Regions from separate parts of the Homo sapiens genome. Here region 2 is linked to region 1. The links are contacts of gene promoters, found by promoter capture Hi-C in blood cells and fetal thymus (Javierre and others, 2016). All regions are on one chromosome and are shown on one strand. Each heading gives the region's core, a stretch centred on a gene start or on the middle of the fragment in contact. The rest is flanking DNA. Distances are from core to core; before and after follow the strand shown. Region 1 holds the start of ELAVL3 (ELAV like RNA binding protein 3). Region 2 holds the start of RGL3 (ral guanine nucleotide dissociation stimulator like 3).

What was found. The method cuts DNA at HindIII sites, captures the fragments that hold promoters and counts their contacts. A CHiCAGO score of 5 or more calls a contact.
Region 2: the fragment with the promoter of RGL3 here is called in contact with the fragment with the promoter of ELAVL3 in region 1 in 1 of 17 cell types (erythroblasts); the score reaches 5.3 in erythroblasts.

What each region holds. Positions count from the first base shown.
Region 1 is chr19:11,479,036-11,482,492 of GRCh38, forward strand. ELAVL3 (ELAV like RNA binding protein 3) reads right to left here and starts at 2,011. Exons shown (of 7, transcript NM_001420.4): 1 at 1,565-2,011. The coding sequence starts at 1,573. RefSeq lists silencers at 529-723, 3,098-3,347, 3,378-3,457. The HindIII fragment of the contact is 20,383 bases long and covers 1-3,457 here.
Region 2 is chr19:11,417,452-11,420,846 of GRCh38, forward strand. It overlaps RGL3 (ral guanine nucleotide dissociation stimulator like 3), which reads right to left and starts at 1,863. Exons shown (of 19, transcript NM_001035223.4): 1 at 1,795-1,863; 2 at 1,220-1,333. The coding sequence starts at 1,827. It overlaps ODAD3 (outer dynein arm docking complex subunit 3), which reads right to left. Exons shown (of 13, transcript NM_145045.5): 13 at 3,154-3,395. The coding sequence ends at 3,384. The HindIII fragment of the contact is 8,157 bases long and covers 1-3,395 here.

The sequences.
Region 1 (3,457 bases), core at 761-3,260:
ACTGGAGAACCTAGGTCCTCAAGGCCCTTGTGTGACCTCTGACCACACCCTCTTTCCCTTTGTGCATTAGTTTCCTTTTTCAAATGAGAGAACCGATCAGAGGACGCTTAGGAGATGCTGGACTGTTGCGGGAGTTCTGAGGTCCTCAGGAGGCCACACTCCAGTTCCCAGACCTGGGTGAACAGCACGAGGCCCAGAGAGGGAAAGGAACGGCCTGAGGTCACACAGCAGGTGAGCCAGGCCTCCGGGACCTCATTTCTCAGAGCCAGGTGGGCGGGTCCCAGGGTCCAGGAGGGGAGAGGCTTAGGCATGGAGGGAGCGCCAATCATGCCCCCACCCCCAGTGCTAGCCACGACTCGAAAAAGGGGCCCGGAAAGAGACACAATGCACAGAGACACACACGCAGAGACGGAGAGATAGGAAGAGTGGAAGAGGGAGGCCCAGGCGCCGGGACCAGACAAAGGACGCGCGGCGGCGCGGGGAGCGGAGTCGCGCGGCAGGGGCGGGGGTGGAGCCGGGGTGGGGCTATAACTGGCCAGCCCCGCCCCCGGGATACGCCCGGGCTGCCGAGTGGGAATCCGAGGGCTCGGGCGAGGCCGGGCCCCCGGGGCCCTGGGGGCGGGGCCTAGATGGGCGTGCCCGGGCGTGGCCAGGCAGGGCGTGGCAGGGCGGGAGGGGCTGCGCGCTCGGGAGCTGACCAGCTCCGTGGCTGCTGAAAGCACCGAGCGCGGGGCTAGCGGTGCGGGCGAGCAGGCGGGCGGGCCGCGCTCAAGGTCACCTCGCGGCCCAGAGCCTTGGCGAGGTGGGGAGCCTGGACCTGGCCTAAGGGGGCTGTCTCGGCCTCCCACCCCATCTCCCGGGGGGCGGAGACCCGGGAGCCCAGAGGTGCCCCCCCAACCCGCGGGCCCTCCTCTCCCCTCCCCCTCCCCGCAGCCCGAGGCGCCCGCGCGAGGCTGCGGCCCGCGAAGAAGCGCCGAGAAACAAAGGGACGCGGCAGCAGCGGCGGCGGGCCCGCGGGGCCTCCGGGCGCGCCCCCTCCTCTCCCCTCCCCGCTTGCCGCAAGGTCGACGGGCTCGAGGACGAGACGCCCGCCTCCCGGGTGCGGCCGAGGCCCGGGGCGCGCGATCCGACGCCACCCGCTTTCCCAGGGCTCTCGGGGACGCTTTGTCGCTTTGGCTTGGCCCAGCACCAGTGATCGGGCCCTGCGTTTGCCTGGGCGGCCTGCGGGGTCTGGGCCTGGATGGAGGAAGCATCCTTAGCCGCCGCGGCCCCTCCCCCATCAGGCCTGCTGGAGAGGGGGCAATCCCGCCTCCAGGGCGGCGTCGGACGCCTCCCGAATCGCAGTCAGTCTCCCTAAGGCCCTCTCAGACCAAGCTCTAAGCGCCCTCAGCACTCTGGGCGCGGCCCTGCCCACTCTCAGGCCCCGAGGCTTGGTCCTACCCCCCCAACCCGGGCCTAGCTAGGCCTGGTCCTACCCCCCCCGCCGCACCCGCCCAATCTCCGCGGAGCCTGGGCCCAACTCCTCCCCGTCCCGATTCCCTTTCGGCGACAGGGGAATACCTACAGTGACCATTCTTGTGTGCCCGGCGGGCGCGGTCCGTGTTGAGGGGGGCTCCGGGGGTGGTGCACTCCTAGGGGGGCGCCCGATGCTCACGCTGGGGTCCCGCCCGGGCGGCCTCTGGTGCGGCCGCTGCAGATGTGGCGATGAAGGCGGCGGCTCCCTCGAGGGCCAGGGACGGGCCCGAACCCGGGGATGCGCGCGCGGATGGCCGGGCCCCGGGGTGGCCTGCGGGCGGCAGGGGATGGAAAGAGGGAGCGGGCGCGGGGTTGAGGACGCCCCCTGCGCGGCCCCGCGGGGCCCGGGGAGGTTGCGCTTCCCGACAGAGATCGCGGCGCTCTGCCTTTCGCCGCCGCCCCTCGGTCGGTCCTGTCCGGTCCCGTGTGTTCAAGTCCTCTCCCCTCGCCCACCCTCCCTCCCTCCCTCCGGCCCGCGCTGCGCGCTCCGCGCTCTGGACCGCGCCGCCGCCGCCCCCAGCCCTTTATAGCAGCAGCTGCCAGCGCCGGCGTCGCTCATTGGCTGCGGCGACCGAGCTCCGCCTCCTCGCGGCTCCCGACGGCGCGGCAGGTGGAAGTGAGCGCGCACTGGTCGGGACTCTGAATCCCCCAAAAGCGCATCCTAGGTGCTCGGGTTGCCAGATTTGGGCCCTCCTTCCCTCGAGGCCCTTGCTTCCTACCCTGGCACCCCTTCTTGGGCTGGCTTTCGGGCCAGGAGACGGGCTCCCCTCCTCCGTCCAGCTCCTAGAGCTGGAGGAGCCAACAGAGCGAGGAGGTATTAGTGGCCTGAATATGCGACCTTCCAGAGGTGTTGTCCACTGAGGGAACTGGACAGGGGATCAGGAACCAATATTTTAGTAGGCAGAGGCCTGGGTCCCCAGATTTGGAGGCACCAGTGTAGACCACCTCAAGACCACGGGGGAGGGTGGCTACTGTGGCCCTAGTCTTCTGCAGAAGGAGACTGGGACGCTGTTGGTTTTGAGTGAGCTGGATCCTTCTAGGGTTCAAAAGGTAAGGACTGGCACTCCCCAGTGCAAGGAAACTCCGCACTGCTCCGAAGGGGGTGAAAAGGTTTGGGGCTCAGTGTTCTGGACAATCATCGCTGGAGCCATGCAGCTCTGGGAAACCACGGATCCTTCTTGGACCCCACAGAACTGGGGTGGGTGGATCTGCCACATAAATGTCCTGGCTTTCTAGGCTCGTGATTGGTCCTCCTGACTGTGGAGTCATGCTCGCTCTCTGCTAGGGGGAACCTGGCCTCTCTCTAAGGCGTTGGGGGTGGCGCAGCCTCCTTTGGTGCGCGGGCGCCGGTGCATGTTTACGTCGGGGCGCGGGAACTAGCACACACTGGGGCGGGGTCGCCAGGGCGTGAGGCTTCAGCACCACAGACAGCAATCCGACAGTCCGGTCGAGGGCGCTGCCGGCGAGGTAGCCCAGACCCCCTAACTGGAGAGCGGCAGTCCCCACCCAATCCTCGTTCCTGCACGCCCTTTAGGCTCCAGACTGTCAGAGAGCGCCACCAGCGAGGAGAGCCTAATTTGCCCAATCAGGGGCGGCCCTTGAGATAACCAGTTACTGGAAGATGCCCTAGAGATCGAGCCAATGGGAGTGCGCGCACCAGGGGATGCTGCCACGCCTGGAAAGGGCAGGCCAATCGCAGTGGCCCGCGCAATAGGGGCGGTGGCGGTGCAGATCCCCGGGTGGCCCCTCTTGGGCTCGCCGGGGCGACCTGGCTGCGGGCGCTAGGGGCCCCAAGCGATGGTCTGTTCCCCACCCCGTGTTCCTCCCGGTTTCCGTCATCGGAAACTGAGCTAGGAGGGGGGCTGCTCCTGGGCGCGCGGACCCCGCTGCGGTTCCCATGGAAACCTGCCGGCTCCGGCAGTGCGGGGAGAGTGGAGGGGAC
Region 2 (3,395 bases), core at 613-3,112, 62 kb before region 1:
GCCCAGCCCCTAGCACCACTTTTTTTTTTTTTTTTTTGAGACAGAATCTCACTCTGTCACCTAGGCTGGAGTTCAGTGGCGTGATCTTGGCTCACTGCAACCTCCGCCTCCTGGGTTCAAGCAATTCTCTGCCTCAGCCTCCCAAGTATCTGGGATTACAGGCACCCGCCACCAAGCCCAGCTAGTTTTTTCGTATTTTTAGTAGAGACGGTGTTTCACCGTCTTGGCCAGGTTGGTCTTGAACTCCTGACCTGATGATCCACTTGCCTCGGCCTCCCAAAGTGCTGGGATTACAGGCGTGAGCCACCTCGCCCCGCCTGTAGCACCATTCTTTCATGTGATTCCTCTGTCTCCCGGCTTCTTGGAGTTATTGTTTTGGTTTGTTTTTTTTAGAAACAGGTCTTGTTTTGTTGCCCAGGCTGGGGTGCAGTGGCACAATCATAGCTCACTGCAGCCTCCAAGTCCTAGACTCAAGCGGTCCCTCTGCCCCAGCCTCCTGAGTAGCTGGGACCACTGCTGGGCATCATCACGCACAGCTAGTTTTTTAATTTTTATTTTTATTAGAGAGAATCTTGCTGTGTTGTCCAGGCTGGTCTCCAATTCCTGGCCTTCTGCCTTGGTCTCTCGAAGCGCAGGGATTATAGGTGTGTGCCCCACTCCCTGCCCGCTTGAAGTTATTGTTCCTCCCCATCCACAAATAGCTCCTGCAACTTGCCCTGGAAACCCTCCCTCTCCCATGCCCTGTCCCCTACTCCCTCTCCCGTCCCCTCCCCCTCCCGTCCCCTCCCCCCACCCCCCCGCCCCCGCCCCACACACTCTTTTCCACCCAGGGCTTCCCTCAGCCCTCCTGTCGCGCTTCACTGGCTGCCCCATCCGCCCTCACCTAGCCACTTCTAAACCAACCCCATTCCACCTTCCAGCCCCGGCCCTCTAAACCTGCCTTTCCCAACTCTGCCGTCCAGTTCTGTCCTTACCAAGTTGTCCCTAGGCTCCTCTCGGGAACTGCGCGGCCATCGCCTGGCCCCACCCCATTCCCTGGATCTCCCCCCACTTACCTGGCCGCCCCCAGTCCCCTTTCTACCTGGTCGCCTCATCTGGTCGCCTCCGAGCCCCTCCCTTCCTTCCGCCCACTGCACCTGGCGGCCTGTGCTCGGCTCTCCAGCTCCGCCCTCAACTGGTCGCTTCCGGCCCCGCGCCACCCACCAAACCCCCTCCTCACCTGGCTGCCCCCGGGGCCCTCCGCCGGGCTCCTGCGCTGACTGCGCTGCCGCCGCAGGGAGACACTGTACACCGCGCCGTCCTCGGTCTCTTCACCCCAGTCCTGCAGCGGTGCCTGGACGCACAGGCGGACTCAGGGCACCAAAGGGGCACAGGTCCTGGGGCCTCAGCCTCCTTGGCCGCTCGGACTCGGGCCGAGTCCTCCTGCTGCATCCCCACGCCCCTTCCCGGCCAGAAGCTGCGAGACTAGGGCTGGGGTCCCAGGCTAGTCCCCTCCTCGCTGCGGGTCCCCTCCTCCCAGGTCCTGAGGACATGGGGTGGCATTTGGGGATGTCCCAGGGCCCAGTCTAATAGAACCTGTCTCTAGCTCTTTCTGCCGACTGCGCTCAGAGACTCGCGCCCCCATCCCTAAGAGGAACCAGTCGCTTCACTGGGTCAAGGGCCGCGAGTCCCCAGGAGGGGACTCCAGGGCAAGTTCAGATTGGGAGCAGATACCGTCCGACGGGCGGGCGCTTGGAGTTTCTGGACCTGCGGGTCACCAGGGATGCGGGGTCCGGGGATCCCTTGTCCCCTTACCAGGGCCAGCTCTTTGCCTGCTGTGCGCTCCATGGCCGGCGCCCGTCCCTCTCAGTGGCGCCGCTGAGTGAGGCGGAAGGGCCGGCGGGTGGCGGGTGGCGGGCGGCGGGCAGTGGCCGGGCGCTGAGGCCAGAGGGGCGGAGCGGCCGAGCTGCTGGGGCGGGGCGGGGCAGGGCAGGCCGGACCCAGCCTCTGGGTGCCTCCAGCCGGACCCAGCGCCAGCCCAGGAGAGGTCCTGGCTCTTCCGCTGGGTGCCTATCAATCTGTCCCCAGAAGAAAGGACATATCTGTCCCCAAGGGGTCTTTTTTGTATCCCCAGATGTGGGGGAGCTCCTGTGTGGGGGCATGTGTGTGTCCCCAGACCAGAGTCCTCTGTCCTCCAGTGGAAGGGGCTAGCTTGATCAAGTGTGGGGGCATCTTCCACTTTTTATTATTATTGCTATTATTTTGAGATGGAGTCTCGTTCTGTCACCCATGCTGGAGTACAGTGGCTTGATCTTAACTCACTGCAACCTCCGCCTCCCAGATTCAAAGGATTCTTGTGCCTCAGCCTCCCAAGTAGCTAGGATTACAGGTGCCGCCACCATGCTCAGCTAATTTTTGTATTTTTTGTAGAGGCGGGGTTTTGCCATACTTGCCAGGCTGGTCTCAAACTCCTGGCCTCAAGAGATTCGCCCACCTCAGCCTCCCAAAATGCTGGGATTACAGGCATGAACCACGGCGCCCAGCCTTATTATTTTTTAGAGACAGGGTCTCACTCCTGTTGCCAAGGCTGCAGTGCAGTGGCTTGATCTTGGCTCACTGCAATCTCCGCCTCCTGGGTTCAATCCATTCTCCTGCCTCAGTCTCCCAAGTAGCTGGGACTACAGGCATATGCCACCATGCTCAGCTTTTTTTTTTTTTTTTTTTTTTTTTTTTTTTTTTTTGGTAAAAACTGGTTTTCACCATGTTGCCCAGGCTAGTCTGGAACCCCTGGGCTCAAGCGACACACCCAGCTCAGCCTCCCAAAGTGCTGGGAATATAGGTATGAATGAGCCACTGCACCCCGCCCTTATTTTATTTATTGAGACAGGGTCTGGCTCTGTGGCCCAGGCTGGAGTGCAGTAGCACGATCATAGCTCACTGCAGCCTGGAGCTCCTGGACTCAAGTGATCCTCCCAACTCAGCCTCCCAAAATACTGGGATTACAGGCATAAAACCACTACATCGGGCCATCTCCCATTTTTAAGCTCCATCTGCGTCACTAGCTGATGGGAGTCATCATGACCCAGGTTGGAGGAGGCAGTCTGTGGCCCTGGGTTTTCAGGGACAGCCGTCTCTTGGGTGGTGCAGGGTCAAAAACAGATGAATACCCAGGGGCATGGTCGGTAACATTTATTGCGCAACTCTGAGGCCGGGGCGGACCCAGCTGGGGAGATTTACTGTGGGAACGTCTGGCCCGGCCCCTTCCTCCCCTCCGGGCGCCGCTGGCCGCCTCCGTTCCCGGTCCGGGCCGCGTTCAGCCCCTGAAGGGGCCCCGTGGGGCCTGCGCTAGACCCGGAGGGATCGGGGGCTCCGAAGGGGGCCGCCTGGTGGGTGTCAGGACGAGTCTAGGACCTCCG